Regions from separate parts of the Homo sapiens genome. Here regions 2, 3, 4 and 5 are each linked to region 1. Evidence: promoter capture Hi-C in 16 types of primary human blood cells and fetal thymus (Javierre and others, 2016). All regions are on one chromosome and are shown on one strand. Each heading gives the region's core, a stretch centred on a gene start or on the middle of the fragment in contact. The rest is flanking DNA. Distances are from core to core; before and after follow the strand shown.

Region 1 (5,687 bases), core at 1,151-3,650:
AGAGTCAGAGAGGTTAAGTTACACTAATGCCAAAATTTTTTCTTTAAATAATTATCTACCTTTTAAAATTCTTGTGGTAAAGACAATTTCCTTTTATTTTGACAACTAAACAAACAGAAATTAAGTACCGGCTACGTATTAAACTTTGAGCTCAGTATTGGAAGCCAAAAACAAACTGTGGTCCCCTCCTTGGAGGCAAAAAAACATATAATCTCAATACAATGCCTTATGGGGAGGGAGGTAAGCTATTGGAACTTGCTGAGAGCTCCTAACCTGTATGTGTGTGTGTGTGTGTGTGTGTGTGTGTATGCATTTGCACATGTGTTTGTGTGATACAGGGGTTGGGACAGGACTACTGGAGAAGACTGAATTGAATCTTGGAAATGAATCAGAGTTAAGTAGGTGATGAAGGTGAAGAGAAAGAGTGTGTAAAAGAACAGATAAGTGAAAGAACATGAGGAAAAGCGAAACATTTGGAACTGCAAATGTTTAATAACTATAAGGTCAGTGTTGCTTGAAGTGAATCTTAGTGGGGAGCAGTGAGACATGGATCTATAGAGATGGGCAAAGGACAGGCAGCAGACCACCTGATGTGCACACACTTCCTAGCCACATGGGTAATCTGAGGACTGGCCTAGCTCTCCTGTAACATCTTCAAATACCAAATACTTGTACCAGGAATCCTAGTGCCTGTCTCTGTTCCTCTTCTGTCTTTCTCATCATCTCCATCATCTTCCTCTTCACTCTTCCTCCTATTCATTGCCTTGCCTCCCCTCTTCACTTTTTATTCATCCCTTATCTCTTACTTTTTGTCTCTCTTTTTTTGTTGTCATTTTATTCCACCTATGACAAACTCAAGATACTGTTTTTTTGCACATTCATTTACATTCACTTCTCTGCCAAACCGATTCTTCTGATTACAGTTTAGCAGGTGCTGTTTCATACTTATTATTATATTACATTTTTTTCTTCACTTTGGGTGTCTTCATTGTGGCTTGTCCTTGTGACTATTCTTGGAAGGCTTCCAGGCCATGCTTGTTAAGCCCTCAAGGAGCTCAAATCCTGGTCTTCCTCTGAAATAATGGTCCTGAAATTCTAATGAATTACATGGAAGTGATAGAAAATAAACAGCCTTGGGCCCCACTCCCAGAGATTTTGATTCATTAGGTTTGGTTTGGGGCCTAAGAATGTGCATTTTAATAGGCAATTGCAAGAGATTCTATTGTGTATGACGCATGGGCCACACTTTGAAAAATGCTACTCTAGGAACTGTGGTAAGAAGATGAGATGCGCTGTGCTGGTCAGTTTACTACCAGTGGTCATTCTGGGCTTGGCATATGCTATTCCCACTTCTACCCCTCTTCATGAACATTGTCTTTCCTTTTGTCTATTCCATTAGACCATAAGCTTCTTGGATACAAGGCATGTAGCTTGTTCATCACTAATCAGGCAGCACCTGTCAACTGGAGGTCCCTTGATAAACAATTCCTGAATGACTGAATAGATGAGATTTCTATGGATAAGGTTTTGCTTAGGTTGAGCTTTGTTTCCCTTGTGCAGGTTCCAAAATCTTGCTTATCTGTGTACGCTAATAAACATGCACTAACGAACAAATCAGGGAGCAGGGCAGTCTGCTATGCCAGGAAAAATTAGTTTATTGACAACAGTGAGCAACACATTGCAAAAGATGATGGTGACAGTTTGAGCAGTAAAAACCATCAGGTTGTAGAATGTGTTTGCAAAGTCCACCCCAGGAATTCTTAAAGGTCGATTTACTATCCATAATGACTAAGGCTGATGTAGACACCTGAAAATGTGGGTGAGGGTGGTAATGGACGTCTGCTTACACCAGGCTGTATCCAGATGGTAAAAATCACTATTGTCACCTTGTGAAAAAAAATCTATTTTTCTTTTAACTTTTTAAAAACACCAGATAGATGTTTAGGCTTCAGTGTATTGCTCTGTGGGGGCATTGGGGTCTCAGCAGGAGGAGGTCCTGCAGGTGGTGCTGCAAGGGGTCGGCTGGCCGCAGGGGGGCCGGCAGCAGGGGGACTGCACAGACACAGGCTGGCAGCAGGTGGTGGCCCAGCAGCAGGGCCTGCACACCACAGCCGTGCACGACGAGGGGCAGCAGGTGATGGGGCGGCAGCAGCCTTCCTGCAGGGAGCAGGGGTCGCAGCACACCGGGCGGCGGCAGGGCTCGCAGATGGGGCGCGTGCAGCGGGGCACGCAGGTCACGGGGCGGCACACGGTGGTCTGGCAGGTCACGGGGCGGCAGCAGCAGGGGTCGCGGCAGCAGCAGGGCTGGCAGCAGCCTCCCCCGTAGCTCAGGGAGGACAAGGTGGAGCCGCAGCAGGAGCCGGTCATGGTGGTGTCTGAGGCTGGTGTGGGTTGGGCTATTGAGAGGAGCTGGATGTTCTCAGGTGTGAATGTCCTCCTCCCCCTCTGGGCCCTTTATATACCCTGGCTGGGAGCTGATGACCCTTCAACATATGATCATTTTCTTGTGCATCTTCTGGCCAATTAAGTGAAGATTTAGCATTGACTAATGGTATTTTGGTCACTCTTCACCTCATACATATTCATGTACATACACCACAAATATTCGCTCATTTTCTTGTATTGTTTATCCTCACTAAATTTAGACATTGGATTCACTTCTGATTAATTTTCCTTTGAAATATTCCTAACCCATAAGAGAGAAAAGAATGTGTTTTCTAAATTAGTGTCTAATCGCTCTGCCCTTTGGCGCTAAAATTAGCATGTTCTTCCTTGTCTTCAAAGGCTCCCATCACCGGCACCCAAGCAGTGACTTGCCTTATTAATGCACATGGGCATGATGGTAGCAGGTTAATTGCATCATCCTAGTGCAGACCAGTAGTCATCTGCTTCACAGATAGCTCCTTCCATGACTCACTTAAAGATAGGCTTGTGGTTTTTCATATGAGCAGGGACCACACGAAATGCAGATCCCTGGCCACTGGTGTGGTCACTCTCCCCTGACTAGGACCTGGGCTTTCCTGCCTTGGTTTTGATGTGTCATCATTCACCTGGAATGCCCTCCTCATCCTTCCAATCCAAACTCAACTTCTACCTTGATTGTAAAACCCTCTTCAAGGATCCATTGCAATTATTATATTTGTAATTTGTTTGGAATTAGTCGTTGCATCTGTAGAGTCCGGGAAGGGATTGCGGAGAATATGTAGGCCTATGCCCTCACTCTACAGCTGAGGTCCTGAGAGTGTACCAAGGTCACACAATGAGGTCACCATATGAGGTCTGAGATCCAGGTCTCCTCAGTCTGCAGTAAGTAGCCTCTACTATGAGTTTTATGCTCATTGGATTCAGTAAACCATGGTCTTTAGACAGGAAAGAAAACATATATTAAAGTAGAAGCCCAGACTTCATGCCACTATGCAATATATCCATGTAACAATGCTGCATTTGAACCTCTTACATTTATACATATTAAACACAGATTTAAAAAAATAAGTAATGAACTTTCCTTTCAGCAGCAAGGTTAGAAGTGGTACTGGAAGAGAATTAGGGAAATGTTTTGCCCAGATGACACATTGTCATCCTGGACCCCCATTGACTCCACTAAGTATGACAATGTGTCTGAGAGCTAGAGAAGGGACCTGGAGAAAGCTAACATGATGCAGGGTTTATTAGTGGAACTTACATACAAGGGTGGTCCAGTGGTGGTATCTGGACAGGAGAACTGCTATTATTTGTAAAAAGCATGCAGTTCACACAGTATTTTCATTAGAACCCTCCACCTAACAACCTCCATTTAATCCAAAACAAAGGGCCTCAATCCCCAGTATGACCTGTGTTCTAATGGATGAGGTGGGGATTCAAATGTCCTTCATAGATAAGGAGTGGATCTCCAAGTTGGCCACTCCCAGATCCTTAGCTCAGAACTCCAAGCATACATTCTTCTTTGATTGTAGGATCATTCTCAGGGTATGCTTAAGTTAAGTTATTGCTGCCAGATGTGTCTGCCATACCCTCCACCTCAGCATACCCTTGAATAGCCCTTACATTCTAATCACACCATTCTTCTGAGATTTCCCTGGGGCTAGGATATGCAGAGGAGCATTGCAACCAGATGTTTCAGCAGCAACATAAACTACTACAACAAAAAAGAATAATGAATGTAACAACAATTGTACTGTATAGAAAGTTTTTCCAAGCACTCAGGAGTTGATTAAACCATGTGGTTACAGGGTCATAAGATAGAGATTCTATAGCAGAAATCTGGGTATCTAGGGCCCACATGGCCTGTGTTACATTGTGAGAGTAATCAGGGATATATACACAAAATTCAGTTTTAATTAATGCACAGGTTCTGCCCTGATAAGCGGTTAAGATGTCCTGGGCCATGCAATTTTGCAAAGTAACACACCTAATTTGGGCAGTTTCTTCAGTGAGAAGAGTAATATCATGGCAGATATCATTAAAGACTGCAGCCCTATGTTAAGCCAGGGCCTCAACTTGCAGCTGTATGTCTATTGTCACCACTTGGGTGGTGAGTGGTGGGGGGAGTGGCGGGGGGGACATGGCAAAAGTGGCCAACGGGTAAAACCACTGGGATGCATGCTTCCAGCAGTGCCTGGCTTTTACAATTTCCCAGTTAGTAAGAATGGTGTCTAAACTGGGCACGATGTATCCCAGCAAATGAGGATGTCCCCAGGTGCATCTACCAGTCCAGTTATAGGGTAAGTAAGGCCAACTGTGGATGCCGCATGCCCACAGCCATCCTAAGGGGTGTGGTAGGCCCCCAGGTGGAGAGTCACTCTGTCGTCGCAGTCAAGTATCACTGGTTACCTGAAGAGATTGGTTTCATTGCTGTCATATTCCATGTCTATTACCTGAAGAAATAGATTACATTACACTGTGGGGGTAGCCATCCCATACTACTGGTTTTAGCTTGTGGCATGCTATTATCATGCCTTTTAATACATGTGGGTGCACAGCCCACAAGCTGTATCTATACTGCTGTTGTCCACCCTGGCCCATCATCTACAGAATACCCCACAGTGGGGGTGACATTAACCTGCTCCTATACTAGGTGGAAAATATGTTGTCTCATCTCTGATGGTGGGAAACTTATCACATGAAGTGTGGTTATTGCTAAAGGGAAATGGGTGAGGGTCATTATACCAAGTATAGAAATGGCTCCAGATACTGAGGTTAGCTGCTTGGATGCACCATGGCAGGCTGATGCTGGAGGAGAAGGGCAGCTCCCTGCAGATGCAACAGTCTGTTTTGTTTTGGGGAAAGGTCGCCATTTGCACCCAGTTGGTGAAGAGGTACACCACCTATGGGTGACAGGTGAGATACCTAGTGGGTAGAAGAATGGGCAAGTTGGCCGGGCACAGTGGCTCACGTCTGTAATCCCAACACTTTTGGAGGCCAAGGCGTGTGGAACACCTGAGGTCTGGAGTTAGAGACCAGCTGACCAACATGGTGAAACCCTGTCTCTACTAAAAATACAAAAAAATCAGGCAGGCGTGGTGGTGCATGCCTGTAATCCCAGCTACTTGGGAGGCTGAGGCAGGAGAATCTCTTGAACCCAGGAGGCAGAGATTGCAGTGAGCTGAGATCATGCCACTGCACTCTAGCCTGGGCAACAAGAGCAAAACTCCATCTCCAAAAAAAAAAAAAAAAAGAAGAAAGGGCAA
Region 2 (5,687 bases), core at 1,241-3,740, 220 kb after region 1:
TATTCTAAGATCAAACGCTGGGATAAATTTAATTAAATTGTAGGTTTGGAGATAACTAATGCAGAAAATATAGGATTAAAAATCAGAAATAAAATTAAAATGATTCCCACTTAAATAAACAAATATAGACATTATTCTAGAATATAAATCAAGAAAGCCTAAATTGGATAGATTGTATAAACTCGCTAAGGAAAGCATGCAAGCCTTATCCATCCTTTATTATCACTGCGTTCCACAGTGGCTGTGGCCTGTCCCAGACCAGAAAACCTTCAGATCCTCTTTCTAAACAAAAGCATTCCTTATGCAAGATAAGGACAAGGTAAAAACCAAGCTCTTCAGCCCCAGTCAGATTCCTGCTTGGAACAAAGATTAAGATGGAAAGGGTCAAATTTCAATAATCTTCTGCCCTTTAAGGTTGATTCCTAGCAAAATCAACCCAGTTTTTTCCAAGCATTCCCCTTTAAGTGCCCAATAGTAATAAATATAGCAAAGCATAAGTATACTTAATATATAAAACAAACCACTCACTAAGACCAACATTAAGTCCACTATGAAAGAACTGTACCTACACAAATAGGTGATGATAAGAATATAAGGGATTTCATTTAAGATCTACTGGTAAAATTATGATTAAGACATAAGAAAGGAGGACTTCTTAATATTACTTATATATTCAAAGAATAATATTTGAACAGAATTGTGTAGAAGGACAGCTGGAAAGGGGAATAGTGGCCCCAAATGGATGTAAACAGCATAGGAGAGAATTTAGTTTCTTTAAATGAGTTCTAGTTTCCTGACCGTGGACAAACTACTTCTCAGATACTGAGACATCTTCCAAGTGAGAACATTGAACACTGAGCTCTTTTTTTTTTTTTTTTTTTTTTTTTTTTTTGAGATAAGTCTCGCTCTGTCACCAGGCTGGAGTGCAGTGGTGCGATCTCGGCTCACTGCAACCTCCACCTCCAAGGTTCAAGCAATTCTCCTGCTTCAGCCTCCTGAGTAGCTGGGATTACAGGTGCCCGCCACCATGCCCATGTTTCACCATGTTGGCCAGGATGGTCTCGATCTCTTGACCTCATGATCTTTGGGAGGCCCACACTGGCCTCCCAAAGTGCTGGGATTACAGGTGTGAGCCACCACACCCAGCCAAGAACATTGAACTCTTATTGGTGATGTTTGAAGAATCGTGGGGAACCTAAAATTTGGGAGACTGGATCTATATTAGCATCAGAGAAAATTTTCATTCAATCTGAACTGATCAAAATAAGGATAGCTCCCTCTCCTTCAGGAAGCATTGAGCATGCCAGCATTTGCAAAATATATACCCGAACTTGAATTGCAAGAGCAGTTTTTTCCTTTTTGGCCCTGAAAATAACTTACAACATCCAAGAAGACTTTAAACAATCTATCTTTTACCTATTGCACAATTTGTTATTATACAATAGGGGGCTTATTGTTATTATTGTTGTTTGTAATGGTATTTCTAGGGCTTTCTATATTTCAAATGACTGACTCTTAATTCTGTTTAGTGCTGAATCACTGTTTTCCTCTTTCGTTTTTCTTTTAACTGGTAAATATTAACTTCCTTCATACAGCTCTGTCCTAAGACAGGTACAGCTAGCTTATTGGTGACAGCCGGACATGCTTGCACTGAATGACCGATGGTTTCCACTCTTCTTCTTTCCTCCTCTTTCCTAGTAGCTCAGTTCAATAAGGTTAAGCCCTTTTCTGATGGTTTGAGATACATTTAAAATGAATTTCTTATATTTATTTTTCTGGTGAAATAATATGTTATCAGGGAAACAATAGGGATTTGGCTTTTAAAAATTCATCATAGTCTTGTTAAAAAAAAAATTATTCAATGGCACTTGTGAAAGCCTGGTAAGGGAGACTTTATTCAGGAACACTGCAGTAAACAAAGGAACCACCATAACAGGGTCTTGCATTGGGAGACAGAGATTGGACTCATCTCCTAACATAGCATGGGCAAGTGAGAATTTACAGCCAAGGAGCAGGGTGGCGGTCAGTGGATGGAAAATTACTAAGAGGAAGCATCACCAGTAGGGAAATTTTGGCTAAACTGACCTAAAAGTGCTCTTGCTGAAGACAGGCGAGGGTGATCAAACATCACTTGGAGAATGGTGGCAGATAAGAGATCTGATCCGCTATTAAGGGTGATCAGATATCGAGGATGGGGAGTTCTTGCTAAACCTATTTAGCAGGGCTCTTTGCTAAAATTTTACAAAACTGGATTTTACAAGGAAGTGCACCCATGGGCCTATGAGAAGGTTCAGAAGCTTGACTAAACTATGGACAAGGAAAAAAATCTTCATTGGTCCTTACTGCCTTTTTAAAGAAACATTGGACTTCATGGCCACTAGTGAGGGTTTGGATTTAACTAATGAGTATCACTAGAAATTGGACATGCATGAGATTCACCATCCCTGTCCACCACCTCTGCTGATTGTCTTAATAACTGGTTAATTTTGCCACCTCTAAAATATCTTTCCTGCACATTTCTTCATTGTATTTATAATTTGAATTATCTTCTTTGCAACTAAGGCATTTCCCAATTTATCACCTAGTAATCTATACTCATCTTGCATATCCTTTCGTGACCTAGATTATGTGTGCAGTATATCCTTCATAAGCTCTTAAATTTAAAGGATATTTTATATTTTACAAAGCTTTTTCCCATTTTGGCCTGGCACAGTGGCTCACACCTGTAATCCCAGCACTTTGAAAGGCCAAGGCAGGAGGATCATTTGAGGTCAGGAGTTCGAGACCAGCCTGGCCAACATGGCAAAACCCGTCTCTACTAAAAATACAAAATTAACCAGGCTTGGCAGTGTGCACCTGTATTCCCAGCTACTCGGGAGGCTTAGGCACGAAAATCACTTGAACCTGGGAGGCAGAGTTTGCAGTGAGCTGAGATCGCGCCACTGCACTCCAGCCTGGGTGAAAGAGCAAGACTTTGTCTCAAAAATTAATTAATTAATTAATATTTTTAAAAAAACAAAGTTCTTTCACATCTATTCCCATGCCACTAAGTCAAGAGACTAATTTTTAAGACTTCGGGAAAGATCTATGGATCCCATCCATGCTGACTTAGAGCATAAGCAAATAGTTCATTTAAACAGCAACCCTTTAACCAGGCACAGTGGCTCACACCTGTAATCCTAGCACTTTGGGAGGCCAAGGTGGGTGGATCACTTGAGGTCAGGAGTTCAAAACCAGCCTGACAAATGTGGTGAAACCCCGTCTCTATTAAAAATGCAAAAAATTAGTGGGGTGTGGTGACACGCACCTGCAATCTCAGCTACTCGGCAGGCTGAGGCAGGAGAATCGCTTGAACCCAGGAGGCGGAGGTTGCAGTGAGCCAACATCAAGCCACTGCACTCTAGACTGTGCGACAGAGCAAGACTGTGTCTAAAAAGAGCAATCCTTGGATTTTGTTTGCAACAGCTCTAGACTATTTATCAGGAAATCACTACCATCAAATATTTTTCCAGTTCCAGCTAGGTTCAGGTGTTGCCAAGAAGTTTCTGATGAAGTGGGCTACAGGAGGGAACTTACTTCTAGATGTTATAGAACTATTGTTGTAAGATGAATTTATTTAGGTGGGCAAACTGATGAGACCAACATGAGTAACACCAAATGCCGTACACCACGCAGATGGGCAAGTTTCATGTTATACTGGGGACTCATGGGCTCATTACACCCATCTTTTGGGCCATTTTTATGTCTCAAATATCAGTTTTTATTCTGTTGTCTTAACTTATAGCCACTGAGATAACTCCCTACTGATATTTAGTTTCCAAGTTGACCTTTACAAGGCTGCCTTAACTTTGCCCCTTAACATCCTTTATCAAAGCCCATTACACGAATCCCACATTTGAGATTTCCAAAATAAGACAATCATGCATAGCTTTTCCTCAGGAATGGAACTTCTCAGGACAAGTCTGACGTGTACCCTAGTTATTAAATAGATAGGGAAACAATCAGAAAAATGACAGGGGAAATTTCATTCTAATAGACACTGGGAGAAAAGATGGCTTATGTTGACTTAATTCTTTTTAAAATACTTTACTGTGTGTGATTAGTATCCTAAGGCCTTTTAAAATACTTTTCAGTATACTATAAAGATGCCAGAGGGAGTTATAAGGAGCTATGGGCTGGGATTTGATTGAAAAAGTCCAAGTAGGTCAGGCGTGGTGGCTTGTGCCTGTAATCCCAGCACTTTGGGAGGGCAAGGCAGGCAGATCACTTGAGGTCAGGAGTTCAAAACCAGCCTGGCCAACGTGGTGAAACCCCATCTCTACTTAAAAAAATAAAAAATAAAGGCCAAGTAGAGAATACGAGTTTGAGCCATATGAAGTTTCCATTTTTGTAGATCAAAAATAACTGCATAGCTACAACTTCAAAGGTTTAGCCTTAGGAAGAAAGATTCGTGAACAAGTCATTAAACAGGGATGGTAGGAGTCCATGAGAAGAATGAAAGAAGCTCCAGATGCTTTTTGGTTGGAAAAAAACAAAAACAAAAACAAAAACAAAACAGCAGAAAACATGGTGAAAATGTGTTTTTTAATGAAATGGTTGTAAACAAAGTGAGTATGCCATTAAACAGGAAAAGGCCTATTGCTTTGTACTGATAATCTTGTACTGTGCTTGCGATATAGAAATCAACGCTCCTCTTATTTCTCTTTAGTCTTTTTTTTTTTTTTAATAGACAGAGTTTCGCTCCTGTTGCCCAGGCTGGAGTGCAATGGTGCGATCTCGGCTCACCGCAACCTCCACCTCCTGGGTTCAAGCAATTCTCCTGCCTCAGCCTCCCAAGTAGCTGGGATTACAGGTGCCCACCATGCCCGGTTTCTTTCTTTCTTTCTTTTCTTTCTTTTCTTTCTTTCTTTCTTTCTTCCTTTCTTTCCTTCTTTCTTTCTTTCATCTTTAGTAGAGACAGGGTTTCACCACATGGGCCAGGCTGGTCTTGAACTCCTGACCTTAGATGATCCACCCGCCTCAGCCTCCCAAAATGCTGGAATTACAAGCATGAGCCACTGTGCCCAGCCTTTTCTTCAGTCTTTCTAATGAGAATAGTAACCAACCATCTGTAAAGAGAAAGAGAAAACCAAGATTAGGGCATAATAAGCAGTAACCAGTAGTTTGTCCCTGGGGAGGGGGATGTGGATGGGGTGTTTGGAAACTAGGACTTCCCATTTTTTTTCCTACATTGTTTTCCCCCTCAAGCACAGGTTACTTTTATAACAAAAGAAAAATTGAAATGTTTCCTTCTGAACTGAAATGAGAAAACTTGCAACAAGAGCGACAGATTTTAATTCCTTTTGATCTGAATAAAGAGAGCTATAAGCACTAAAAGAAGTTTAATATGAAGTAAGCTCCTCAGTGTGATGTTGCATTTTTTGTATGATGCATTTGTATCCACCCTTCATCCAATTCATGATCCATGAACTGTAAATATGTCAGTATCTGGCAAGGAAAATCTGGGCTTATAAAAGGAACCTGGCCTCCTTATTTCAGGCTGAGAGCAGGGATTGAGAGAAGATCTGAGATCTCCCGGTGGCGTATGGCACAAAGACTGTGAAGGTTATGCTAGAAACACTCTTATTTGGTGTCTATCTTTTCAGACAATAGGAAATAATTGAATTGGAAAAATGACTAAACATTGA
Region 3 (5,687 bases), core at 1,104-3,603, 190 kb after region 1:
ATTCACAATTAAGAAACAGATTAAACCTTAATCTGTTTAACCTTAAGGAAACAACTACCCTTTGAGAATCACAAACGGACTGGGAAAACAATGTAAACGGAAACAAGGAAAAGTCCTGCTGATTGGTGGAAACTTTGGAGGCCAGGTGTATAAAAGGTCCAGATTGCAAGGGGTCATCAGATTCTGGGAAACTCACCTCTGAACAGAAGCCCACCCTCTACCCCTGACACCATGACCCACTGTTGCTCCCCTTGCTGTCAGCCTACATGCTGCAGGACCACCTGCTGCAGGACCACCTGCTGGAAGCCCACCACTGTGACCACCTGCAGCAGCACACCCTGCTGCCAGCCCTCCTGCTGTGTTTCCAGCTGCTGCCAGCCTTGCTGCCGCCCAACTTGCTGTCAAAACACCTGCTGCCAGCCCACCTGTGTGACCAGCTGCTGCCAGCCTTCCTGCTGCAGCACACCCTGCTGCCAGCCCACCTGCTGTGGGTCCAGCTGTGACCAGAGCAGCTCCTGTGCACCTGTGTACTGCAGAAGAACCTGCTACTACCCCACAACTGTCTGCCTGCCTGGTTGCCTAAACCAGAGCTGTGGCTCCAACTGCTGCCAGCCCTGCTGCCGCCCAGCCTGCTGTGAGACCACTTGCTTCCAGCCCACCTGTGTGTCCAGCTGCTGTCAGCCTTTTTGCTGCTGATCAAGTCCCAAGAGAACCACCATCCTCACACAACAACTTTCTGCTCAACTGACTTATCTTTTGGGGGACTAATTTAATTTGCTGCTGACAGCCACCATGCTCTCACCCAAATTTTTATGAATTCTCTACCTGTTTAAAATCTTGGGAATCTACTTGAGGGAGGGCAGAATACTTCATCCTGATTCTCTTTTTCCTTACACTTTGTGGATCATGTGCCAGCTTCGTGTGTTCTCAATTTTGAGTCATGGTCTCAGCTTTGACTCAAAAGTCAAGAGCTTCATTCTCTGCTTCTAAGGAATTTAGGTTTCTGCAACTGATCAATAATCTTTGCAATCATATTTTTGTTTTCAATATCCTCCTCATGGTTCTTGTATCCTTCTTTCTTCTTTTCATAACTTTGGGTTATGTTTCTGCTACCAGCAGAGATTCTTAGCTATATGTTTCTGAATAAACTCTGAACCATCCTCATCTCATATGGTGTTTTGTTTTATATGAAAGCATTCCTGATATGAGATTTACACACATATCACATACCATAGGTATTATCCAATTTGATTCTCAAAACAGATGGTCGTGTGTTATTACCTCCATTTTTTCAGCTGAGAACAATTTAATGTGTGATGTTATGTAGCTAGTAAAGGGCAGACTCTTGTCCAAGCTGAGGTCCTCTCTTTCTGCCCAAGGACACTTACATTTAACTCTCAATATAGTAGAAATGACATTGGAAGTAAGTATTAGCAAGTCATATACTTGAGTTTTTTTAACAATAGGACAAATAATCTCTTATATTTGCAGATAACGTTTTTGTTTACAAAAAATTCCCAATTTCCCACACCTCAGTGAGAAACAGCTGCGTGATATGGCAGCAGGGACTGCATTTAATGGCTGCCCTGAATGCAGGGAGCTCTTTTTGTCTCAGCCTCTGACCAGCCACTCATTCAATTCATCTACATCAAAAAAAGCTTGGGAATTTATTGTGGACTCATGAGAGAGAGTCTCATCTGAAGAAACTTGTTGTCAATATCATGTAAATAAAATACTTATACAGCCTTCATCTCCTGAATACCTATTGATGAAGTAAATGAAACTAAGTTATTTCTTGTAAAATGCAGACCATACATTTTGCCACATTAAGACAATTTGTCCCCTAATTGTAATGTTATGAGGGAAATTATGTAAGAACAAAGCTGAGAATTGAGAAACTACACAATGGGCATGTAAGACTTGGCACAATCCATAATCTCTGAGCCAAGTAAGGGAATGAAACAGCCTTCTGCATTTTGTGAGGCCAATAGGAAGCATTCAAAGAAATGAAAAACTTGTGTTTCCAGGGAAATCAGAAGAATGTAAGAAAGGAGCAAAGTAGAACTTGTGCATTCATAGAAGTCATAATAGACAGAGGTTAGTGCTTTGGGTCCTGAACCGATGTAAGCTAAGCATTCACCCATGGAAAGATTGATTGATACAGGCTCTGAGAGAAATATAAAAGTTGGGGACCTGGGTCACCTTCTTCGGACCTCCTACCAGCACTGGAGTGCTAGAATTACCTCTGATCAGCTAAAAATGTAGATTTCCATGACAGATGCCAACTTCTGAGACTGTGAATCTAGAATGCTCTGAAGACTTGGCTAAGAGACAACGGCCACTTACTGTGATCATCGTTCAGGGTTGAAGTAAAGGAGATGAAAACTAGGACATTCTCTTTGACTAGCATCATTTATGAAAGATGAATAAGTTCAGCATGTCTACTGTACAGTAATGTGACTATAGTTAATAACACTTTATCATATACCTGAAATTTACCAAGAAGGTAGATCTTAAATGTTCACACCACAAAAATTAAAAGGAAATGGTAGCTTCGTGACCTAATAAACATATTATTCACAAGGAATATATATATCAGAACATCACCTTGTATACCTGAAATAGATACAACTTTTATTTGTCAATTATACCTCAATACAGCTAGGAAAAAAAGTATTTAGTTGATCTAGTTAATTATTACAAAAATATTCCTATCTTCAACATTAAAATTGGTAATTTTCTGAACAAGAAACACTAATATGTTCTGGATTGCCTGCTATAGGATGGGTATTTGCTAAACACTTTGTGTACATTATTATTAACTCTTTAACAAACTTTCAGAATAGGTATTAATATTCCCAGCGTAGAGATAAGAAAATTGAGGCTGAGGGAGTTAACATAATGTCATAGATTAGTTTCTCCCGAAAAGACTTTGAAGAAAAGATTCCAGTGAAACTAGTTTACTGGGAAGTGCAGATCACACCGGTAGGAATTGGGGAAGTGATACAGAAAAGGGTACACTATAAAGTCAGTATCACAGTCACCAACTAAAGCTTAAACTAAAGGGAAAACTATCAGAAATGATGAAAAACACACAGCTAGAATTATCCTACTTCAGGAATGAGGAAGCTAGAGTCTTTATAAATCAGCTCTCCAGAATCATTGGTTGAGTGTTTTTCTCTGTGTTGCATTCACAGGTGGCATGACTTTCTACAGCTGCAATACAAGAGCCCTTGGCCACAGAGATGCGGACTCTGACAGATGGAAATTAATCCAAGCACACTAACATGCAAGATATATGGGCGCACTTACGAAAACTTGTCTGAGATCTACAATTAGCTCCACTCAAGTCAAATCTTTGCTGTTTAAATGTGATGGAGAGCCACAAGCTCTAAAAGAAGGAAGAAGCAGAGGAGAGGAAGAGAAGGAACAGAAGATGAGAGGAGGAAAGAGAAAAGAAACAAAAAAGAAAAAGAGAAGGGAGGAAGAAAGGAAGGAAAAGGAAAGGGAAGGGAAGGGATAAAGGAACCAAAAAAAAACATGAAGGAAGGAAGGAGAAGGGGTGATTGAAGAAAAAGAAAGAAAGAAAAATGAAGAAGGAAACGAAAAGCTGGGGGAGGAAGTGAGATATAAAATGAAGGCCAATGAAATAAGCTACACTTACTGCTGCTATAATACAGTGCACCTGAGATTCATAAGCTCCATTAATTACCACCAGTCCTATTCTCCCTTCACCCCTGGCCAGCACTCTTGTTTGTCTAGATAACTGCCTGAGGGAGTAGCTCAGAGCATCCTTCCTGAAGGGTCTGAGCCCCTGGTTACTATACCACTGTCCGCTGTGATTACTGTTTTTACTGTTTTGTGGTTATCACTGGGCATGGACACACTATGAGATTCTGCAGTGTTATGGGTTAATTTGTGTCCTCCAAAATTCATGTTCAAATAGAATCATTTAAAATGTTATGTGATAAGAAAAGGTCATATTGGAAACAATTAGGCTTCTGATTAAATATGACTGATATCTATACACAAGGGGGAAATTCAGAGACAGTATGCATATAGTAGAAAACTTATGTCAAACACACATGGAAATGATAGACATCTACAAGTCAAGGAGAGAGACCTGGAACAGATACTTCCCTCGCAGGCTTCAGATGAAAACAACATTGCCAACAGCTTAATTCCAGACTAGAGGCCTTTGGAACTGTGAAAAAATAAATTTAAGCCACTTGGTTTGCAGTAATTTACCATGGCACTGCTAGTAAGTTAATATACTCAGTAAATCACCTGAGCTATAGATACATTCTCCTACACTATGTGGCTTGAGGATAATTACCCCTCACCAAATAGTAACTCCTTTCTCTGTCTGCTGCTCTCCTGACATGAAGAGTCCAAAGTGACTATGCAATAACGATTACTTTTGATTATGCTAAAGAAATAGAGAAGCAAATACTGTAATTTTTATTTACATGAATATTTTTTAAAGCCAAAAGTTAGCTATAGGATTACAACTTGACAGAGTGATTAGCTGTCTTTGGGAATGAGTAAGAGGATATAATTGGGAGAGAATGGGATTAATTTCTATTTTCTAACATAGATGTAATGGGGACATAGATGTATTTACAATATAATAATGTATCAAGTTGGAAATTAATAATTTGCATTCCTCTGAAATGAATGGTAATTCCTAGAAAATGTTTTAAACATGTTAGAACTCCACGATGAATCAGGTGTCATCTCAACTCATCTAATTAATTCATTAAATAGAAGGAGAGGCTGTGGATGGTGGCTCATGCCTGTAATATCAGCACTTTGGGAGGCCGAGGCAGGCAGCTCACAAGGTCAGGAGTTCGAGACCAGCCTGACAAATATGGTGAAACCCTCTCTCTACTAAAAATACAAAAATTAGCCGGGCATGGTGGCCGGCATCTGTAGTGGCAGCTACTCGGGAGGCTGAGGCAGGTGAATCCCCTGAATCGAGGAATCAGACGTTGCAGTGAGCCGAGATCACGCCACTGCACTCCAGTCTAGGCGACAGAGAAAGACTCCGTCTAAGAAAGAAAGAGAAGAAATGATACTGACTGTGCTAGTAACCAGGGTTATGGCTAGAGCCACAGCTTATGCACGTTGGCCTGAATCTCAAGCAGTTATGTCATAGAAAGTTCTACATTCTCATCCCGGTAATCCCCACACTCGCAGACAAGTGAGAATGAATGCTCACCCCTGGGCGTAGATTGCTTGATGCTGTCTAAATCCCAGTGGATTTCTCTGCATCCACCTGCTCTCGATCGGCTCTGCCACATGGAACACACTGTGACAGACACCCTCTTCCCAAGTGACGTTCAAATAACTGAAAGACACAGGTGGTGAGGATTGCACAGAGATGCCTGTTAGTCTTGAGTCAGAATTTGGTGGGTGAATTGTCTTGGGCCCAGGCATGGATTCATTTTGTCACCGTAAATATATCAGCATCATGCTTCTCCCCACAGACACTTCCCAGTCTACATACAGCCAACTGTGAGGCTGGGCAGAGAGAATTTCCTGAGCTTCCCAGATCACCAAGAACTATCACATGACTAGATGATGGTCAGAGCAGGAATGATGCTGATGATGAGATGGGCTTCCTTTTATCTGAAAGGAAGTTTCTATGAGTAATTCACAATTAAGAAACAGATTAAACCCTTACT
Region 4 (5,687 bases), core at 810-3,309, 170 kb after region 1:
AGTCTCCGTTTATTACCACCAGTTCTATTCTCCCTTCACCGCTGGCCAGCACTCTTCTTGGTCTGGATAACTGCCTGATAACTGCCTTGATAACTTCCTTCCTAAATTGTCTGAGCCTCTAGTTACTATACCACTGTCCACTGTGATTGCTGTTCTTACCGATTTGTAGTTATCACTGGACATGGACACACTATGAGATTCTCCAGTGTTATGGGTTAATTTGTGTCCCCCAAAACTCATATTCAAATAGAATCATTTAAAGTGTTATGTGATAAGGCAAGGTCATATTGGAAACAATTAGGCCTCTGATTAAATATGACTGATGTCTATATAAAAGGGGGAAATTCAGAGACAGCATGCATATAACAGAAAAATTATATCAAACACACATGGAAATGATAGACATCAACAAGTCAAGGAGAGAGACCTGGAACATGTACTTCCCTCACAGGCTTCAGATGAAAACAACATTGCCAAAACCTTAATTTCTGAACTGTGAAAAGATAAATTTAAGCCACTTGGTTTACAGTAATTTATTATGGCAGTGCTGGTAAGTTAATACACTTACTAAGTATCCTGAGCTATAGATATATTCTGCTACACTATATGGCTTAAAGATAATTACCCCTCACCAAATAGTAACTCCTTTCTCTGTCTGCTGCTCTGCTGACGGGAAGAGTCCAAAATGACTAGGCGATAACGATTCCTTTTGATTATAACAAAGAAACAGAGAAGCAAATACTATAATTTTTATTCACATGGAAATTTTAAAAAGCCAAAGTCATCTACTGGATTATAACTTGATAGAGTGATTAGCTGTTTGGAAATGAGTAAGCGGATATAATTGGGAGAGAATGGCATTAATTTCTATTTCCTAACCTGGTAATGGGGACATAGATGTATTTACAATGTAATACTATATCAGGTTGGAAATTAATAATTTGCATTCTTCTCAAGTGAATGATATACCTAGACAATGTTTTCAACATGTTAGAACTCCACGATGAATCAGGTGTCATCTCAACTCATCTAATCCCTTCATTGAAAAGAAATAGAAGAAATTACTTCTACTTACTTCTTCTTCTAGTTACTGCTAGTAACTAGGTTTAGGGCTAGAGCCACAGCACATGCTGGTTGGCCTGAATTTCAACGCTTACTTCTAGTTACTGCTAGTAACTAGGTTTAGGGCTAGAGCCAGAGCACATGCTGGTTGGCCTGAATCTCAAGAAGTTACGTGATAGAAAGTCCTCCATTCTCATCCCGGAAATCCCCACACTCCCAGACAAGTCAGAATGAATGGTCGTCCTAGGGCATACATTGCTTGATGCTGTCTAAATCTCAGCAGATTTCTCTGCATCCACCTGTTCTCGATCTGCTCTGTCGCATGGAACACACTGTGCAGTCACCGTCTTCCCAAGTGACATTCAAAGAACTGAAAGACACAGATGATGTGGGTGGCACAAAGAGATGCCTGTTAGTCTTGAGTCAGAATTTGGTGGGTGAATAGTCTTGGGCCCAGGCATGGATTCATTTTGTCACTGTAAATATATCAGCATCATGCTTCTCCCCACAGACACTTCCAAGTCTATATACAGCCAAACATGAGGCTGGCCAGAGAGAACTTCCTGAGCCCCCCGGATCAACAGGAACTGTCACATGACCAGATGATGGTCAGAGCAGGAATGATGCTGATGATGAGACGGGCTTCCTTTTATCTGAAACAAACTTTCTATGAGTAACTCACAATTAAGAAACAGATTAAACCCTTAGTTTAAAAGGTTCATAAGATTTCAGTAACAACTTCCCCTTTGACAATCCCAAATGGACTGTGGAAAACAATGTAAACAGCAACAAGGAAAAGTCCTGCTGATTGGTGGAAACTTTGGAGGCCAGGTGTATAAAAGGTCCAGATTGCAAGGGGTCATCAGATTTTGGGAAACTCACCTCTTAACAGAAGCCCACCCTCCATCCCTGACACCATGACCCACTGTTGCTCCCCTTGCTGTCAGCCTACCTGCTGCAGGACCACCTGCTGGCAGCCCACCACTGTGACCACCTGCAGCAGCACACCCTGCTGTCAGCCCTCCTGCTGTGTTTCCAGCTGCTGCCAGCCTTGCTGCCACCCAACTTGCTGTCAAAACACCTGCTGTAGGACCACCTGCTGCCAGCCCATCTGTGTGACCAGCTGCTGCCAGCCTTCCTGCTGTAGCACACCCTGCTGCCAGCCCACATGCTGTGGGTCCAGCTGTGGTCAGAGCAGCTCCTGTGCACCTGTGTACTGCAGAAGAACCTGCTACCACCCCACAAGTGTTTGTCTGCCTGGTTGCCTAAACCAGAGCTGTGGCTCCAACTGCTGCCAGCCCTGCTGCCGCCCAGCCTGCTGTGAGACCACCTGCTGCAGGACCACTTGTTTCCAGCCCACCTGTGTGTACAGCTGCTGCCAGCCTTCTTGCTGCTAATCAACTCCCAAGAGAACTACCATCCTCACACAACAACCTTCAGCTCAACTGACTTGTCTTTTGAGGGACTAATTTACTTTGCTGCTGACAGCCACCATGCTCTCACCCAAATTTTTATGAATTCTCTACATGTTTAAAATCTTGGGAATCTGCTTGAGGGAGGGCAGAATACTTCATCCTCATTCCCTCTTTCCTTACACCTTGTGGATCATGTGCCAGCTTCGTCTGTTCTTAATTTGGAGTCATGATCTCAGCTTTGTCTCAAAAATCAAGAGCTTCATTCTTTGCTTCTAAGGAATTTAGGTTTCTGCAACTGATCAATCATCTTTGCAATTATATTTTCATTTTAAATATCCTTCTCATGGTTCTTGTATCCTTCTTTCTTCTTTTCACGATAACTTTGGGTTATGTCTCTGGTAGCAGAGATTCTTACCTATATGTTTCTGAATAAACTCTGAACCATCTTCATCTCATATAGTGTTTTGTTTTATTTGAAAGCATTCCTGATATGGGATTTACACACATATCACATACCATAGGTATTATCCAATTTGATTCTCAAAACAGATGGTCGTGTATTATTAACTCCATTTTTTCAGCTGAGAACAATTTAATGTGTGATGTTATGTAGCTAGTAAAGGGCAGACTCTGGTCAAAGGTGAGGTCCTCTCTTTCTGCCCAAGGACACTTACGTTTAACTCCCAATATAGTAGAAAAGACACTGGAAGTCAGCACTAGCAAGACATGTACTTGAGTTTATTTAACAATGAGAGGAATAATCTGACATATTTGCAGATAACACTTTTGTTCACACACAAAAAAATCCCAAAGTAGTTCCCCACACCTCAGTGAGCAAAGGCTGCATGATATGCATTTAATGGCTGCCCTGAATGCAGAGATCTTTTTGTCTGAGCCTCTGACCAGCCATTCATTCAATTCATCTGCATCAAAAAATGCTTGAGAATTTATTGTGGACTCAGGAGACGGAGCCTCATCTGAAGAAACTTATTCTCAGTGTGATGTAAATAAAATTCTTATACAGCATCGGTCTCCTGAATACCAATTGACAAAGTAAATGAAACTAAGTTATTCATTGTAAAATACAGACCATACGTTATGCCACGTTAAGACAATTTGTCCCCTACTTGAAGTGTTATGAGTAAAATTATGTAAGAACAAAGCTGGGAATTGAGAAACTATGCAATGGGCATGTAAGACTTGGCACAACCCATAATCTCTGAGCTAAGGAAGGGAATAAAAACAACCTTCCACATTTTGTGAGGCCAATATGAAGAATCTAAAGAAATGAAAAACTTCTTTTTCCACGGAAATCAGAAGAATGTAAGAAAGGAGCAAGGTAGAACTTGTGCATTCATAGAAGACATAATAGACAGAGGTTGGTGCTTCGGGTCCTGAACTGATGTAAGATAACCATTCACTCATGAAAGGATTGATTGATGCTGGCTCTGAGAGAAATTGAAAAGTCGGGGACCTGGGGCACCTTCTTGGGGCCTCCTACCAGCAGGGGAGTGGTAGAAATACCTCTGATGAGCTAAAAATGTAGATTTCCATGACAGATGCCAACTTCCGAGACTGTGAATCTAGAATGCTCTGAAGACTTGGCTAAGAGACAACAGCCACTTACTGTCATCATCGTTCAGGGATGAAGTAAAGGAGATGAAAACTAGGACATTCTCTTTGACTAGCATCAGTTATGAAAGATGAATAAGTTCAGTAGGTCTAATGTACAGTAATATGACTATAGTTAAAAACACTTTATCATATACCTGAAATTTACTGAGAAGGTAGATCTTAAATATTCACACCAGAAAAATAAAAAGGAAATGGTAACTAAGTGACCTAATAAATATGTTATTCACAATCAATATATATATCAGAGCATCACCTTCTATACCTGAAATGTACACAATTTTTGTTTGTCAATTATACCTCAATACAGCTAGAAAAAAACGTATTTAGTTGATCTATTTAATTAATACAAAAATATTCTTATCTTCAACATAAAACTTGGGAATTTTCTGAACAAAAAACACTAATTCTGTGTTGCCTGCTCTATGATGGGTACTGGATAAATGCTTTGTGTACATTATTATTAACTATTTAACAAACTTTCAAAATAGGTATTAATGTTCCTCTTGTAGAGATGAGAAATTTGAGGCTGAGTTAACGTATAGTCATAGATGAGTTTCTCCCAGAAGAGACTCTGAAAAAAAATTCCAGTGAAACTAGTTTACTGGGAAGTGCAGATCATACTGGTAGGGACTGGGGAAGTGATACAGAAAAGGGTACACTATTAAGTCAGTTTCACAGTCACCAACTAAAGCTTAAACTAAAGTGAAAATTATCAGAAATGATGAAAAACACATAGCTGGTATTATCCTACTTCAGGAATGAGGAAGCTAGAGTCTTTATAAATCAGCTCTCCAGAATCATTGGTTGAGTGTTTTTCTCTGTATTGCATTCACAGGTGGCATGACTTTCTACAGCTGCAATACAAGAGCCCTTAGGCACAGAGATGCAGATTTTGACAGATAGAAATTGATCCAAGCACACTAACATGCAAGATATACGGGTGCAGTCATGAAAACTTGTCTACGATCTACAACTAGCTCCACTCAAGTCAAATATTTGCTACTTAAATAGAATGGACAGCCACAAGCTCTAGGAGAAAGAAGAAGAGGAAGAGAGGAAGCAGAGGAAGAGAAGGGACAGAAGATGAGAGGAGAAGGAAAGAGAAAAGAAGGAAAGAAAAACAGAAAGACAGAGAGAAGGAAGGAAGGAAGGACGGACAGGAGGGAGGGAAAAGAGGGAGCAGGGAGGAACCGAGGGAGGGAAAGGAAGGAAGGAAGGAAGGAAGGAAGGAAGGAAGGAAGGAAGGAAGGAAGGAAGGAAAGAAGGAAGGAAGGAAGGAAAGAGATCGAAAGAAAGAAAGAAAGAAAGAAAAAAGAAAGAAAGAAGAAAGAAAGAAAGAATAGAGAGAGAGAGAAGGGAAGGGAAGGGAGGGAGGCAGGAAGGGAGAAAAAGGAAGGAAGGAAGGAAAAGAAAGAAAGAAAGAAGAAGGAAAGGAAAAGAAAGGAGAGGAAGTGAGATATAAAATGAAGGCCAATTAAATAATCTACACTTACTTCTGCTATAATACAGTGCACCTAAGTTTCATAAACTCCGTTAATTACCAAGAGTTCTATTCTCCCTTCACCCCTGGCCAGC
Region 5 (5,687 bases), core at 1,244-3,743, 130 kb after region 1:
ATCAATGGTAGACTAGATAAAGAAAATGTGGTATATGTATGCCATGGAATACTACACAGGCATAAAAAAAGAATGAGATCATGCCCTTTGCAGCAACATAGATGGAGCTGGAGGCCATTATCCTAAGCAAACTAACACCGGAACAGAAAATTAAATACTGCTTATTATCTCCACTTATAAGTAGGAGCTAAAAATTGAGTAAATATGGACACAAAGATAGGGACAACAGAGATACCTGTGTCTACTTAAGGGTGGAGGGTGGGAGGGGGGTGAGGATTGAAAAACTGCCTGTCAGGTACTATGCTGATTACCTGGGTGACAAAATAATCTGTACACCAAACCCTGCAACATGCAGTTTACCTATATAACAAACCTGCAGCCGGGCGTGGTGGCTCACGCCTGTAATCCCAAAACTTTGGGAGGCCGAGGTGAGTGGATCACCTGAGGTCAGGAGTTCGAGACCAGCCTGACCAACATAGAGAAAGCCTGTCTCTACTGAAAATACAAAATTAGCCGGGTGTGGTGGCGCATGCCTGTAATCCCAGCTGCTTGGGAGGCTGAGGCAGGAGAATGGCTTGAACCCAGGAGGCGGAGGTTGCAGTGAGCTGAGATCGCACCATTGTGCTCCAGCCTGGGCAACAAGATCTAAACTCCATCTGAAAAAAAAAAAAAGTCCTGCACATGTACCCTTGAACTTAAAATAAAAGTGAAAAAAAATAAAGAAATAAAGTCAGTGATGAAGACCTTGGGAAACAGTGAGCATCTTAAAGTCTGCAAAGGCTGGGGAGAAGAAATACGCCTGGTAAGAATGTCATCTGTTCAGTAAGAAGGCAGATGCCAGAGCTTAGAAGAAATTTAAGGTGATTTTTTTGGGACGAAGCACTGGGAGAAAAGATGGCTAGTAAGAGTAGGAACCTCACAGGAATTCCTTTCGGTTCATTCCATTTGCAAATGATCCCAATGAGGAAAAATTGCCAGAGGCCTAGAGTGGAAGGAGCTAATGCAAAAATTATTCTGGCAATGTGAATTCTAAACACTATTGGGATGCAAGCGTTGGCTGGACAATCATTAGAACATTGTGCCAAGGATTCGCAGTGTCTGGTAATTGGTTATTATTATTGGACTTCAGAGGTCACTTCAGTTCTTGAGATACTTCAAAAGTTCCCAAATGTTTTTGTTGGATTCAAAATTGACCATTCGCTGATTTTTGAAGTCCATAAGCAACAAAATATGTAAAATATGTAAAATTTAAAAAGAAACACAAAGTGCCATACATACTTATTAGGCATCCTTTGGAGGAAACAGGAAGGCTGTCTTCCAGGGTAGTAAATACTACCTTGAAAAACGTACCAGTATCTGGCCTTCAGCCTTGCACACTCCAGAAACTGAAATTATTTACATTCTAAGAGTGAAACCACCTCTGGGAGCAGGCTCACTTTCACCAAGCCCATAACATTAGTACCAGTTGAAGAATCTACATGAGAAATAACTTAAAGAGAAGATGACATTTTCATGGGTCTTTTTGACCAGGATATTTTCTTCCTATAGATATACCTGCATGAAAAGTGAAATTATAACCAAAGGTTATTTTCTTTTTTATAATTAAACTTTTTGAGATAATTGTAGATTCACATGCAGTTGCAAGAAATAATACAAAGAAACCTCTGTACTCTTTACCAAGTTTCCCCCCAATGATAACTTCTTGCAAAACTACAGTACGGTATCACAAGTCCAATGGTGACATTGATACCTTCAAGACACAGAGTAGCTCCATCAGCACAAGGATCCCTTGTATTGCCCTAAAAGCTTATTTTCTCAGCAAATATTTAGAACATTCTAATATTCTAGAAGTTCTAATAATACGGAATGGCATCTAATGCATTTGTTCTAAAACAGATTTTGCCAGGCACTCTGGAAAATTCAAGTGCCTTGGGTGGCTCTCCCTCCCCCATGCAATGTGTCGTAACCAGCACTTCTGAATTTGTCTCAGACTCTCTCTTTTCTCTAAGCTGCCATGGCTCACCAAACCTCCACCCCCATTTATAAGTCCCAGGTTCTTTTTAAAACCATCTTCAATCAACTTACAGTAATTTCTGCAGGTCTTGAAGCAGCCCCTCCCATGTTCCCCAACTTCTGATACAACCTCATTTATGCCTTTGCCTCATAAAGACCTACAAAACATTTTTAATTTTGTTTACTTTTGCCATCATATTTATGGATCATTTATGAAGTTTCAGGCCATAGCATACAAATTATATTTTAGGCAACTCCGGATTTTGTCCACTTTCTCTTTCTTCCAAATAAAAATATAAGCTGCAGCCATGCAGGTCTGTCTTCAGAAACTGGCATGGGCTCTTTGTTATCATTAGACAGTAACATGACATCATACACCTGTTTGTGTGATTCCCCCATCACACTCCTTCCCCTGGGATCCCTCAGTGAGTTCTGATGGTTTATGCACATCCTACTGCAATTTTTCCTATGACTGCCATTAAACATAAAAGACAATTCCACACTTCAGTCCTCTATTAAAATATAATATTATTATGGACAAGACCAAGTAATGCTTTCACGAAATGGTTTTTCATTTTCTTTAGCTCTGTCCAGTGTACAATGTATGTAACAAAACTTCCCTATTTTTCCACTGGAGAACCTCCATTCAGAATTCCCCCTAGATGGCAGATGTTGGCATGATTTTACTCCAGTATGTGTTTTAAAAAGAAAAGGAATGACACTCCCTAATTCCAATCCCAGCTATAACATTGATAGTTTAAGAAGTGTGAGAGAGCCCCCAGAACTGCCAATATTGGAAGTCCTATCAACATCAGATTGACTCACTGGAGAATTGTGAGGTTTGTTATGTTCAGAGTTTGCTCATGTGTAAAATGTGGAAAAATGGAAAAAGAATCAGAGGAACATGTATAATGATTCCCACTGAGGTTAACAAGTGTAGATTTGTTTCTAAGATATTAAGAACTTCATGAAATTATAGAAATTTTGAAGACTGATAATACTGATATTATATGAAATTATAGAAATTTTGAAGACTGATAACACTGTATTATGTAAGTTGTTCTGAGAGATTCCCACGGTATTTGTATGATGTTTCAATACCTTCTTTCAGCTTAGATAAGAATATTGGAATCTTCTGAAAATCGATATCAGAATCTACCCAACCTAAAAGCTTTCTACTGTACCTGTCTAATTAATATAAAAGCTTGAGAGTACTTGATATAAGTATAAATAAATGATATAAAGGCTTGAGAGGATGTTGATAGAACTTCTAGGGATTGGATTTAGGGAGTGTCCTTCCTTTTCTTTTTAAAACACATACTGGAGTAAAATCATGCCAACATCTGAAGTCCCCTCAGAATGGAGTACAGATATTATGAATCCAGATTCACCAAGAAGTTAGTTTTTTTTTTTTTAATTTAAAAAGCTGCTCATGCTGGGAATGTAAACTGGTACAACCACTGTGGAAAATAGTGTGGAGATTCCTTAAAGAACTAAAAGTAGAACTACCATTTGATCCAGCAATCCCAAAACTGGATATCTACCCAGAGGAAAAGAAGTCATTATACGAAAAAGATACTTGCACGTGCATGTTTATAACAGCACAATTTGCAATTGCAAAAAATATGAAACCAGCCCAAATGCCCATCAATCAATGAGTGGAAAAAGAAATGGTTGTATATATGATGGAATACTACTCAGCCATAGAAAGGAATGAATTAATGACACAGCAATCTGGATGGAATTGGAGACTATTATTCTAAGAGAAGTAATTCAGGAATGGAAAACCGAACCTGAAATCTTGTAAGTGGGAGCTAGCTATGAGGATGCAAAGGCATAAGAATGATACAATGGACTTTGGGGACTCAGGGGAAAAGATGGAAGGGGTGATGGATAAAAGACTACAAATTGGGTTCAGCATACACTACTCGGGTGATGGGTGCACCAGAATCTCACAAATCACCACTAAAGAACATACTCATGTAACCAAATACCACCTGTTCCCCAAAAACTTATGGAAGTAAATTTTTTTTTAAAAAAAAAGCTGCTCAGCTCTGTCTGATGCATGATCTCGTGGTAACAGTGGAAGTGGTCAGATGTTTGTCCGATCTCCAAAACCCATGTTCTTCTACCTTTTAAAGATAAAATGCTTCTTAAAACTGTTTCATCGGGGCATGGTGGCTCACGCCTGTAATCCCAGCACTTTGGGAGGCTGAGGCAGGTGGACTGCCTGAGGTCAGGAGTTCGAGACCAGCCTGGCCAACATGATGAAATCCCATCTCTACTAAAAATAGAAAAAAATTAGCTGCGCGTAGTGGCGTGTGCCTGTAATCCCAACTACCTGGGAGGCTGAGACATGGGAATTCCTTGAACCAGGAAGATGGAGGTTGTAGTGAGCTGAGATCGCACCACTGCACTCCAGCCTGGGCAACAGTGAGACTCCGTCAAAAAAAAAAAAAAAACACCACTAACACACACACAAAAACCTGTTTCTTCCTTTGTTAAATTAAATTTCTAATTAAAATTTTTATTTTTAAAGAATAGAGATTGGCATGCCATTGTAAGATGTGATACAAGAGATCCATGTACTCTTTGCCCAGTTTCCCCAAAAAATAACATCCTCCAAAACTATAGAAAAACATCACCAACAGCATATGATATTGATATTGACATAGCCAATGTACAACACATTTCTGTCACTGCAATGATCTCTTTTGATTGTTCTTTTATAGCCACTCTCACCTGCCTCCCACACCCACTCCTTTCTTTATACCTGGCAACCACCAATCTGTTCTTCATTTGTATAATTCTGTCATTTCAAGGATGTTGTATAAAAAGAATCATACAGTGCTTAACATTTTGAGACTGGTTTTTTCAACACAGCATAATTCCGTGAAAATTTAAACAGATTGTTGAACAGTTTTTCCTTTTTGTCACTAAGAATTACCCTCTGGTATGTATGTACCACAGTTTGTTTGATCATGTGTTGAAGGACATCTGGGTCGCTTCCAGTTCAAAGCAGCCATAAACATTCATGTACAAACATTTGTGTGAACAAGTACAATTACTGAGTTGTATGGTAGTTACATGTTTAATTTTTTTTTTTTTTTTTTTTTTTTACAGAGTCTTGCTCTGTCACCGAGGCTGGAGTGCAGTGGCACTGTCTCGGCTCACTGCAACCTCCGCCTCCTGGGTTCTAACGATTCTCCTGCCTCAGCCTCCCGAGTTGCTGGGATTACAGACATGCGCCACCACGCCCGCTAACTTTTTGTATTTTTAGTAGAGACAGGGATTTACCATGTTGGCCAAGCTGGTCTCAAACTCCTGACCTCAGGCAATCCATCCGCCTCAGCCTCCCAAAGTGCTGGGATTACAGGCATGAGCCACTGTGCCCGGCCAGCATGTTTAATTTTTAAGCAACAGCATCAACTGTTTGCAGAGTGTCTGTACCATTTTACATGTATGACTGATTCTGTTTCTTTGAACACTCACCAGCATTTATTTTAGCCATTTTGATAGGTGTGCTAACTTTTCGTGGTTTTAGTTTGCATTTCCCTAATGGCTAATGATGTTGAACATCTTTTCACATGCTTATTTGTCATCTGTATATCTTTTTCCATGAAATATTTCTTCATGTCTTTTGCCCATGCTGTACTTTTAGTGTTTGCTTTCTA

The links. The method cuts DNA at HindIII sites, captures the fragments that hold promoters and counts their contacts. A CHiCAGO score of 5 or more calls a contact.
Region 2: a fragment that was not itself captured here is called in contact with the fragment with the promoter of KRTAP2-4 in region 1 in 1 of 17 cell types (total B cells); the score reaches 5.9 in total B cells.
Region 3: a contact is called between a fragment that was not itself captured here and the fragment with the promoter of KRTAP2-4 in region 1, in 2 of 17 cell types (total CD8 T cells and naive B cells). The highest score is 5.2, in total CD8 T cells.
Region 4: a contact is called between a fragment that was not itself captured here and the fragment with the promoter of KRTAP2-4 in region 1, in 1 of 17 cell types (naive B cells). The highest score is 5.2, in naive B cells.
Region 5: a contact is called between a fragment that was not itself captured here and the fragment with the promoter of KRTAP2-4 in region 1, in 1 of 17 cell types (activated CD4 T cells). The highest score is 5.0, in activated CD4 T cells.

Annotation. Positions count from the first base shown.
Region 1 is chr17:41,063,479-41,069,165 of GRCh38, forward strand. KRTAP2-4 (keratin associated protein 2-4) reads right to left here and starts at 2,401. Exons shown (of 1, transcript NM_033184.4): 1 at 1,638-2,401. The coding sequence starts at 2,367. The coding sequence ends at 1,981. RefSeq lists enhancers at 1,597-2,134, 2,135-2,671. The HindIII fragment of the contact is 6,863 bases long and covers 1,406-5,687 here.
Region 2 is chr17:41,285,686-41,291,372 of GRCh38, forward strand. No RefSeq gene overlaps it. Among named protein-coding and RNA genes, the nearest start is that of KRTAP9-7, 13 kb to the left of the region's middle. The HindIII fragment of the contact is 390 bases long and covers 2,296-2,685 here.
Region 3 is chr17:41,249,490-41,255,176 of GRCh38, forward strand. KRTAP9-4 (keratin associated protein 9-4) reads left to right here and starts at 198. Exons shown (of 1, transcript NM_033191.3): 1 at 198-1,164. The coding sequence starts at 232. The coding sequence ends at 696. RefSeq lists an enhancer at 1-479. The HindIII fragment of the contact is 1,395 bases long and covers 1,657-3,051 here.
Region 4 is chr17:41,230,523-41,236,209 of GRCh38, forward strand. KRTAP9-3 (keratin associated protein 9-3) reads left to right here and starts at 1,927. Exons shown (of 1, transcript NM_031962.3): 1 at 1,927-2,932. The coding sequence starts at 1,980. The coding sequence ends at 2,459. The HindIII fragment of the contact is 5,484 bases long and covers 1-4,801 here.
Region 5 is chr17:41,194,866-41,200,552 of GRCh38, forward strand. No RefSeq gene overlaps it. Among named protein-coding and RNA genes, the nearest start is that of KRTAP9-1, 7.8 kb to the left of the region's middle. The HindIII fragment of the contact is 1,378 bases long and covers 1,805-3,182 here.